2 separate regions of the Homo sapiens genome follow, and region 1 is linked to region 2. The links are contacts of gene promoters, found by promoter capture Hi-C in blood cells and fetal thymus (Javierre and others, 2016). All regions are on one chromosome and are shown on one strand. Each heading gives the region's core, a stretch centred on a gene start or on the middle of the fragment in contact. The rest is flanking DNA. Distances are from core to core; before and after follow the strand shown.

What was found. The method cuts DNA at HindIII sites, captures the fragments that hold promoters and counts their contacts. A CHiCAGO score of 5 or more calls a contact.
Region 1: the fragment with the promoter of CCNDBP1 here is called in contact with the fragment with the promoter of CDAN1 in region 2 in 1 of 17 cell types (fetal thymus); the score reaches 6.4 in fetal thymus.

Annotation. Positions count from the first base shown.
Region 1 is chr15:43,183,518-43,188,007 of GRCh38, reverse strand. It overlaps CCNDBP1 (cyclin D1 binding protein 1), which reads right to left and starts at 2,605. Exons shown (of 11, transcript NM_012142.5): 1 at 2,401-2,605; 2 at 2,129-2,188; 3 at 1,775-1,854. The coding sequence starts at 2,509. It overlaps TMEM62 (transmembrane protein 62), which reads right to left. Exons shown (of 14, transcript NM_024956.4): 14 at 2,864-3,748. The coding sequence ends at 3,422. It overlaps LOC124903478 (a long non-coding RNA gene), which reads left to right and starts at 2,121. Exons shown (of 2, transcript XR_007064604.1): 1 at 2,121-2,239. RefSeq lists an enhancer at 2,000-2,099 and silencers at 2,270-2,359, 2,580-2,879. The HindIII fragment of the contact is 8,824 bases long and covers 1-4,490 here.
Region 2 is chr15:42,735,526-42,740,434 of GRCh38, reverse strand. CDAN1 (codanin 1) reads left to right here and starts at 3,307. Exons shown (of 28, transcript NM_138477.4): 1 at 3,307-3,422; 2 at 3,655-4,133; 3 at 4,357-4,560; 4 at 4,756-4,909. The coding sequence starts at 3,333. It overlaps TTBK2 (tau tubulin kinase 2), which reads left to right. Exons shown (of 15, transcript NM_173500.4): 15 at 1-1,705. It overlaps TTBK2-AS1 (TTBK2 antisense RNA 1), which reads right to left and starts at 1,317. Exons shown (of 3, transcript NR_186317.1): 1 at 1,200-1,317. RefSeq lists silencers at 3,121-3,370, 3,561-3,700, 3,791-4,080. The HindIII fragment of the contact is 7,008 bases long and covers 1,375-4,909 here.

The sequences.
Region 1 (4,490 bases), core at 1,356-3,855, 450 kb before region 2:
AACAACAAAAAAAAACCAACAACCACCCATCTTTTAGTAGGACTAAAGTGGTGAGATCTCAAGAAGGCAATGATGATTCATGTGTATGTATGTGTGTATATACACACATATATACATATATGTATTTATTTGAATATATGTATATACTTGAATATTTGTATATATTTCAAATAAATCCAAATTCTAACTTTTCATCTATGAGTGAAACTACTGTCCTGAGCATGTATAGAAAATCAGTTCTATGCTGCCTCCTTGTGGTATCTTACTTGCAGTGAGTTTTAGCAGCAAGTCCTAAGTGCATTTGAAAGAAAGGGGTTAGCAGATAAGAAAAATAAGGTAATATTAACTACTCTTTTTGAAATAAGTATTTTCCATGAATCTTTTGAAGTGCTCTCATACAATTCATCTCTTGTTTCCTCATCACAAATCTCAAAGGTAGGCCAGGCACGGTGGCTCACACCTGTAATCCCAACACTGTGGGAGGCCAAGGCAGGCGGATCACTTGAGGTCAGGAGTTCGAGACTAGCCTGCCCAACATGGTGAAACCCCGTCTCAACTAAAAATACAAAAATTAGCCAGGCGTGGTGACAGGTGCCTGTAATCCCAGCTACTCGAGAGGCTGAGGCAGGAGAACTGCTTGAACCCGGTAGGCAGAGGATGCAGTGAGCCCAGACTGTGCCACTGCACTCCAGCCTGAGTGACAGAGAGAGACTCTGTCTCAAAAAAAAAAAAAAAATCTCAAAGGTATGTAGGAGGAGAGAGTTTATCACTGTAGGTACATGCAGCAGAAGATATTTATATCCTTTCCAAACACCTATATATGTAGACTGAAAAATTAAAACAATTGACTATGAAAATCAAATAAGGCAATGAATATGCCATTTTAAAAGAATCTTACTCCTATATTAAGCATACACAACTCTAGAAAAACTGAGCATAGAGCATACGTGGTCATAGCCAACATGTTTACTTTCATTAGTTTTATAATAAAGGAATATTTAAAATGCATAAATCTTTGTTCTAGCAATTCTACTTCCGGGAATTTTTTCTACCAATATACACACATACACAGAATTAGGTAATTCATCACGACACTGTTTGCAGTAATTCTAAGTTGGAAGGTCCAGAACAGTGTTTATGTATCATTTGTGTAAAAAGAAGCTGACACATACAGATAAATGTATATGAATGTATATATGCACAGAATATACGTGGAATAATGCAAAAGGAACTGGGGGAGACAAAAATGAGAAAGTGGGTGGAAAGGTAAACTTAACACACTTTGATATCTGTTGAATTTTGTACTATCTACATATGTTACTGATTAAATATAAAAAATAATATAAAAAGGGTATTATGCAGTATAACAGAATAGGTAGCTTAGACATCAGATAGACCTTGATTTAAATTCTAGCCCCCCTGCTTTTTTTTAAATCTTAAGCTGAGCTTCTGAGCCTCCTTGCTCATCTGTCAGATGGCCATCAAGTATGTGAAAACACCCAGCAAATAAAAAGTGCTTAAAAAATTATCAGAAGGGAAACAACCAGGATAAACTTCAGACTGAACCAATATTTATAAGACCTGCCTACTCCGCGCCAGGAACTGCACTTGGCAATTCGGTCTTCACAACAATCCTGTGAAGTAAAAACGGTAACCTCACTGGACAGATGAAGAAAAGAAATCTCCTGGCGTGCGTGCAAAAGGTGGAAAGAAAATTAGAGGATTCCTAAGGTGTAACTCGGCAGCCCAAGGATTCCACGAAAGTGAAGCCCACCTGTGGAGACGGCAGTGGAAGCTGAGAGAAGACTATGGTCAGAGTCGTGGCTTCCCTTGACACAGTCACAGCTGCCTCATCTGGGGGGTGGCCGAAGAGGAGGCAGGTGCCAATACGTTAGTGCTGCACGGACTTGGAAGACTTCCCTTACCGACCGAGACTTCTCAAAAACACTTCCCGAATGTCGAGGTTAGAATTCTATTTCACCCTCTCAGGTGCTGAGGTGGGTAAGGTACCTCACAGAAAGGATGCAGCGGGGGAGAGCAGTCCCCTCCGTGGGGGACAGCGGGAGGAAAAGGGGTCGGGACGCTGGAGGAACTGAGGCAAGGGGAGCCCGGAAGGAGGCGCACTCACTGAGTCTTCTCCAGAACATCTCTCGATTAAACTCCTCGGTGGTCTCCTGGGCTTCGCCGACTTGTGGGTGTGGCGTGTGGGGGCCGAACGGTGGCGAATGGAAAAGCTGAGGTAAGCGGAGCCACCTCCCTCGCCCAAGCCCGGCTCCCCGCCGCCGCCCCAGCCCGCCCTCTCCGCGACCCCGAGCCCGGCCTCTCCCCGACCCCGAGCCCGGCCTCTCCCCGACCCCGAGCCCGCCCCTGCCGTCGCCCGTTCTAACTCCGTCAGCTCACCCCGCACTCGAGGCAGGAGCAACCGCAGCTCCTCCGCCAAGTGCCGGAGCTGCTCCAAAGGCGAAGCCAGGGTGGGGACTGCGGCTGCAGGTGCAGTTGCGCTCGCCATCTCAGTCGCTTGCCGAAGGCCGCAAACACAGGCCTCCGCTGCCACTGCCGGAGCCGCACTGCGACAGCCGCTCCACTTCCGGGCCACAGCGTCAAGGGCTCGTTTCCGTCAACAAGCCGTCCAGCCCCGTCCCAGAGGCCCTGCCCTGCCTCCTCCCGCCACGAGGCCCGGCCCCGCCCGAGGTCCAGCACCACCCATCCCGTTATCAGAGACCAGGCCTGGCCCCGCCTCCTCCCGCCCCGCCCTGTCCCCTGAGGTACAGCACCAACCATCCCACTCTCAGAGGCCAGGACAGGCCACGCCTTCTCTTGCCCCTTAGGCCAGGCTACACAAGCAAGCCTCAGGCTCACCGTCTTTCTTATTCATCATTCATTCATTTATTTGATTAGTTGAAAACACTTCCGACTAAGGAAGCAGAGAGCCCACAATCCTGTGGGAAAACAGGCCTGGGAACTAATATCTCAGGGGTAGTGAGGGTCGGGCCCAGATCCTCAAAGGTTCCCTGCCCCTGAAATTGCACCTTTGACAGCTGCTGAATTCCAAGCACAGCGGTAAGTGCTTTACATGGGGTAACCCTAAAAAACACACTGGGCCTCAGACACTCCCGTACACACACCCAACCTCTACCCTGTGGATGTCCTAGATAAGGGTTTTCTCTTCACAAAGGTAAATCAACTCTTTGCCTCCTTAGGGAGGGAAGGAATAAAGGCATTATTTTTGAGACTTTTCTGCAGTCCATTCTGCAGGTATCAGTAGTGGGTAATCCCTCCAACGTCCAGGACTCCAAACGAGCAGCTGCTCCCTAAAGCTCACCCACCAATCCTGGCCCTCCACCTGCTACTGGGGTAGAGGCCTGGGCTACAGACACAGAGGCTGGGCTTCTGCCCAGCTGCCAGTGGTGAGACATGGCCTTCAGGAGCTCAGGTGGCTTTTTAACTGCACCATGAAGATTCCAAACTTGGTGGAGTTCAGTGTCCACACATAACGAATGAGAACAGGTGTCAGCAGTGTCAACCAGGTCCGCAAAGGGGAGAATAAAAAAGCTAGGGTGCCGTATGTTGCATAAAGAAAGTAGCAGGAATAAACCTGCCAGATGTACAGCAGTAGCATAAGTAGGTGAACAGGCATAATTTTCAAGTATTTTCTTTGATGGAGATGAGACCTGAAGTTGTGACCAAAGCACCGCTGCAGCAAGCTCCAACACATGTAAGCCATCAAGGGGATGTTAAAAAACGCCAGCTGGAAAAGAACAGAACCATAGCTTACTCCCAAGTCCTTGGAAGAGTTTGGTCTTAATAATGCATTATTAGTGGATCCTAAGACTATGCTGCTATCTGTCTTGGCGTTAGCTAATTTACTTCAAGCACAGTTGCTTATAACACAACAGCTGACTTGTGGCTAGTTGTGTATTTGCCCATGTCCTTTTATTCATCTTAGAGGCAGGTATCATTTAATTTATGCTGAAGTCCCAACTTGTAGTACAGTATCATATACACAGTTAATACCCAATGGTGTTAAGCTGGAATTGAACTGAGTAAATGTATACACACACATACAACAACCCCTCTTTTTTGGTGGAGTGAGGGGAGGACTTGGCTATCAGTATTTTTTTTCTTACCTCCATTTTTGTTTGAGGTAGCATGATAAGTACTGGAATATAAATTAGAGTATCTAAATTATAATCCAAGTTGAGCTGCTGTATGATTCATTCATTTAACAAATATTTATTGAGCACCCATTATGTAGCAGGCATGAGCTAGGCTCCAAGTTGGGGACACAATGGCAAACAAGTTAGAAAAGGTCCGTCATAGAGCTTACATTCTAACAGGGAGAAGACAGACAAAAAAAAAAACCAAAAAATATAATTACAGATCGTGATTAGTTCAATGAAGGAAAGAACTGGGTCATGAGAAGGTAACTGGGAGAAAGGCTCTCAGAGGCCAGAAGGACAAGAATGAATCAGCGGAGGGAAGTGCATTCT
Region 2 (4,909 bases), core at 2,058-4,557:
GGATCAGAAAATTAAAGTATGTGACAAGATCAGGTCACCTTGAATTTCCACACAATCTCAAGACACTGAATAGCAAAAAAGTAACATTACACAGTAATGATTAGGATATTTCCTTAGACTTTGCTGGATCTTTGGTCTTAAGGTAACATGTAAAAGTAGTGAAGCCTTTCCTTTCATGGCCCTGTGCAATGTAACGGTTTTCTGCCTCCTCTTCAGCTGGAAGCGTTAGTGGTAGTATGGGCACAGAATATATGTACACTGGCGATGCTGACCATGCCTCCCAGGTACCCTGGCTCTGGGTTCCTTGACCTAGGGAACAAGATTGGATGAGGCAGATCTTTGAGCCCATGTGACTATAGAATTTGCTGATGATATAATTTTACAATAACAATGGATAGGAATTTTACCTCTCTTTTTATTAGTTTAATATTATTTAATATTATGTACATAAGTGTTCACTCGCCTAATTAAAAACATTGAGTAAACCAAGTTTTTATATAGACTACCCTTGCCATATGATGCTCTTTTTCTCTAATAATATGCAGTTTAAATCCTGAGGAATCAATGCCCAGCATTTCACCACATCTGAACTCTGTGTGGGCATTCTTCACTCGCCTACAAGGGGTAAACAAGGCTACCAGAACTTGAATTTGACTTATAGGGAGCTACCCAGGAAGGGGAAAGCCCTTGGGACTTTTTCCAAAACAATCTTCTATTTGAACTGTTCATCAGCCAAAGTAGTCCACTGAGGTGACAAAGCTTTCAGAAATACAAAGATGGGAAGATAAAGGTAACACTGGCCCACTTGGGGCTTTGACATTGGATTGGGTGGACTGAATAAACACAGCCTAGGTGGCCTGGGCTTGAGCCTCACTTACTTCTCCTTGATACATAGTTCCTGGTCTACCTTCTGACCCTTTTTCTAAAATAGCCAGTGTCTATTTCACTAGGCCATTTACTTACAAGTTCCCAGCTTTTAGGGAAAAAAGAGGGAGGGGGGAGCATCTAGTTTTGAATTAGATATACATCTTAGAAGTAATGAGCTATTGGCAGCTGTTAAATCAGATTCAGCCACAAACCAGAATTCTTTCTTGTTGAACAAGACCAATGAGTTAGATGACTTTAATAATTCCACTTTTCTCTCCCTCTCTTCTCCTCTTCCTGAAATCAGAGAGATGAGAAACTACTCTTTGAAATACCTCCAGAGGCGTTTTATTGTGTTCCTTTCCCCTCCAAGCAGCTCCCTTTATACAATTTTGCTCAGGCAACCAAGGACAGAGTATCGGCAGAAACATGGAGTGCTTTTGTATAGGCCACCTGTACATAAAAGTGTAATTATTTATTTAATTTTCCCATTTGTATCATATTAAAGCTTTGTACAGTGTTTTAAGTTCTGTTTTAAAATTATTTTGTATTTTATTTTTATAACCTAGTAATAAAATATTCATTCCGCATGCAAAATCTAGTTCTGTTTGTGTGATGGTCTGGATTTCAAAAGTGGAAAATATTTTTCTAATTTAATAAAGTTATTGAATACACCAGATGTTACAAGATCAACGGGGAGCAGATAGTGTTACTGTAAATGCAGTACCACATCTAGAAGTTCCCTAGAAAAAGCAGCCCAGGACTGAATAGAAGCTAGGTGTTAAGTGTCCCTGCAGTTAGGAGATGTTTTCCTGTAATAAAATTAAAATATTAAAAGCTCCTTTTTAGTCCATTATTCTGTCTGGCTGGAGGTACTTTTTCCTTCTCCATAGGAAATACCCCTTCTGCCACTAGAGAGATTCCTGCACCCCCACCCTCATCCTTCCGCCCGTAACCTTCCTTTGAACCAGAGCAACTCTCAGGAGGCATTCACAAGGGCACTGCCTCACCCCTCCTGGTTTGGTTTGACATGGAATGTTCGTGCCATCTGTTTTTCTCCGCTTGGATTCCCTTGCTTGATTTGTCACTGAGCAGCAACCTTCAAAATCCTCTCTCAGGTTTTTTTGTTTTGTTTTGTTTTTGAGATGGAGTCTCGCTCTGTCACCCAGGCTGGAGTGCAGTGGCGTGATCTTGGATCACTGCAACCTCCGCCTCCCAGGTTCAAGCGATTCTCCTGCCTCAGCCTCCCCAGTAGCTAGGACTACAGGCGCGTGCCACCACGCCCAGTTAATTTTTGTATTTTTATTAGAGACACGGTTTCACCATGTTGGCCAGGATGGTCTCCATCTCTCGACCTCGTGATCCGCCCACCTCTGCCTCCCACTGCATTCCAGCCCCGGGGGTGACAGAGCGAGACTCCATCTCAAAATAAAATTAAATAAAGGAGATTAAGAAATTACTCAGGCCGGGCGTGGTGGCCCACGCCTATAATCCCAGCACTTTGGATCTGCTGCCCTCTCCCGGCCAAAACATTAGCTGGGCTATAGCCCTAGGGAGGCTGAGTCGGGAGGATTGCTTGAGCCCAGGAGGCCAAGGCTGCAGTGAGCCGTGCTCACGCCACTGCACTCCAGCCTGGGCAACAGAGCAAGACCCTGTCTCAAAAAAAACAAAACAAAAACAAAAAACACCAAACCCAAAAATACAAACCTCAAGCTCCCAGAAGCTAATCATGATATGCTTACTGACATCTAAACTGCAAAGTAGTTGAAATATTAACCTCATGTAAACCCACTTAAGTAAATAAAGCTACATACAAGCAATTCTGTGTGCAGGGTGGCCCGAGGCACTTTAAGGGTTGTGGCTTGGGGATTATTAAGAACCTCCTAGAAATAATTCTTTCCTAAATGGTCAGTTGATGGTGAGCGCTGAAAAGCCGATGGGTACTGCTCGGCCAAGGGATTGAAAAATCGGCCTTTGAGAAGAACAAAGTCAAAATGAAAGATTAGATTATAATTTCTCTGGGGTGGTGCCAGTTGGATCTAGGAAACTTAAACTCGTGAAAGAATGTGCTTAGAGCAGAAGATAGAAGCTGGTGGCTGTCTCTGCTCCCCTCTACCTCTCTCCCGGGTCCTGGGTCTCCCTAGAGGGGCGTCCGACCCGCGGCAGCCCCACTCCCAGCTCGAATCCCTCCCTTCAGGTCGCTCCAGGGCGGGCAGCCAAGGTGGGCCTCCCCAGGCGCTGTGATCCACATTTCACCTCCTAACAACCGGCCTCTCGGCCGGGGTTGAGGACTCAGCGAGGCCTTGACTCCGTGGGTCTGGGCAACAGCCGGCTCCGCCCCGCCCCGCCAGCCGGGTCCCTCCCCATCCCGCGACCCAACGGTCGTTCCCCGCCGCCGGCCCCGCCCCTCCCTGGCCGCCCGCGGCGCGCCGGCGCCTGCGCAGTCGCCCCAGAGCGCCCCGACCGGGATGGCGGCCGTTTTGGAGTCGCTGCTGCGAGAAGAGGTGTCGGTCGCAGCCGTCGTGCGGTGGATCGCGCGCAGCACCCAGGGTTCGGAGGTAACAGCGGTGACACGCCCCCAGGTCTGACTCGAAGCCGGTTCCCGCAGTGGAGTCCAGCCCTCCAGTCCCCTTCCTCTAGGGCGCCTGGCTGCCAGCCGGGCCGAGTGCACTCCAACTGGGCGCCGCTGCCCGGGCCGCCCACCCGAGGCGCGCCCTACGGCCCCGGCTGCTCACGGCCCGCGGGCCGGCGGCTGACCCTCTCGCCCCTCCACCTGTGCTTCTGCCCTAGGATAACGCTGGGGAGGCGGCCGCGCTGAGCTCACTCCGGGCCCTGCGGAAAGAATTCGTACCGTTCCTGTTGAACTTCCTGAGGGAGCAGAGCAGCCGCGTCCTCCCGCAGGGGCCCCCGACCCCCGCCAAGACCCCGGGCGCCTCGGCAGCCTTGCCAGGGAGGCCGGGAGGCCCGCCGCGGGGTAGCCGCGGGGCGCGCAGCCAGCTTTTCCCTCCGACCGAGGCCCAGAGCACCGCTGCCGAGGCCCCTCTGGCCCGCCGCGGGGGCAGGAGGCGGGGCCCGGGGCCGGCCCGCGAGCGTGGAGGCCGCGGCCTGGAGGAGGGGGTCAGCGGGGAGAGCCTGCCCGGAGCCGGGGGCCGGAGGCTTAGGGGCTCTGGCAGCCCCAGCCGCCCCAGCCTCACGCTGTCTGATCCGCCAAACCTCAGCAACCTGGAGGAGTTCCCTCCCGTAGGCTCGGTTCCCCCCGGCCCTACAGGGTGAGACTCAGCTCTCATGCAGGAGATGGGTACCACGAAGGCTCTGGGGAGTCAGTCATTCGAGCTCGGCGCTCCGCAGTGGAGCGCCAGGATGGGTAGAAGGCTGGGGGTGATGGTGAGGGTTTTTGTGGGGTTTTTTGGCAAGAGGTCTAGCTGTTGCGGTGGTGGAGGGGAGATGTTTGAAGATAGGAATTTGAGAAAAACCTGTGGCTACTCTCAGCAGGACGAAGCCTTCTCGCAGGATCAACCCAACTCCGGTGAGCGAAGAGCGGTCACTCTCCAAGCCCAAGACCTGCTTCACCTCACCCCCAATCAGCTGTGTCCCCAGTTCCCAACCCTCAGCCCTGGACACTAGCCCTTGGGGCCTTGGCCTTCCCCCAGGGTGCAGAAGTCTGCAAGAGGAGCGAGAGATGCTCAGGAAGGAGCGGTATGGCCTGGCCGCTCCTGGGGATATCGGTTTCCTCGCTGTGGGGGATCTTCAGGGGTTTTCCCTGAAATTGATTTCCCTCTTGGGGACTCTGGGTTTGTCTCCTGGGCTGTTGGTATCTTCTCTGGAGTGACCTGAGTGTGGCCGTAGCAGGGAAGCCAAGCTGACTGCTCATGAAATTTCTTTATTCCATAGCTCTAAGCAGCTGCAGCAGTCACCTACCCCCACCTGTCCCACCCCAGAATTGGGGTCGCCCCTCCCCAGCCGGACAGGAAGCCTCACAGATGAACCTGCAGACCCTGCCAGAGTGTCTTCCCGCCAGCGCCTGGAGCTTGTAGCCCTTGTTTAC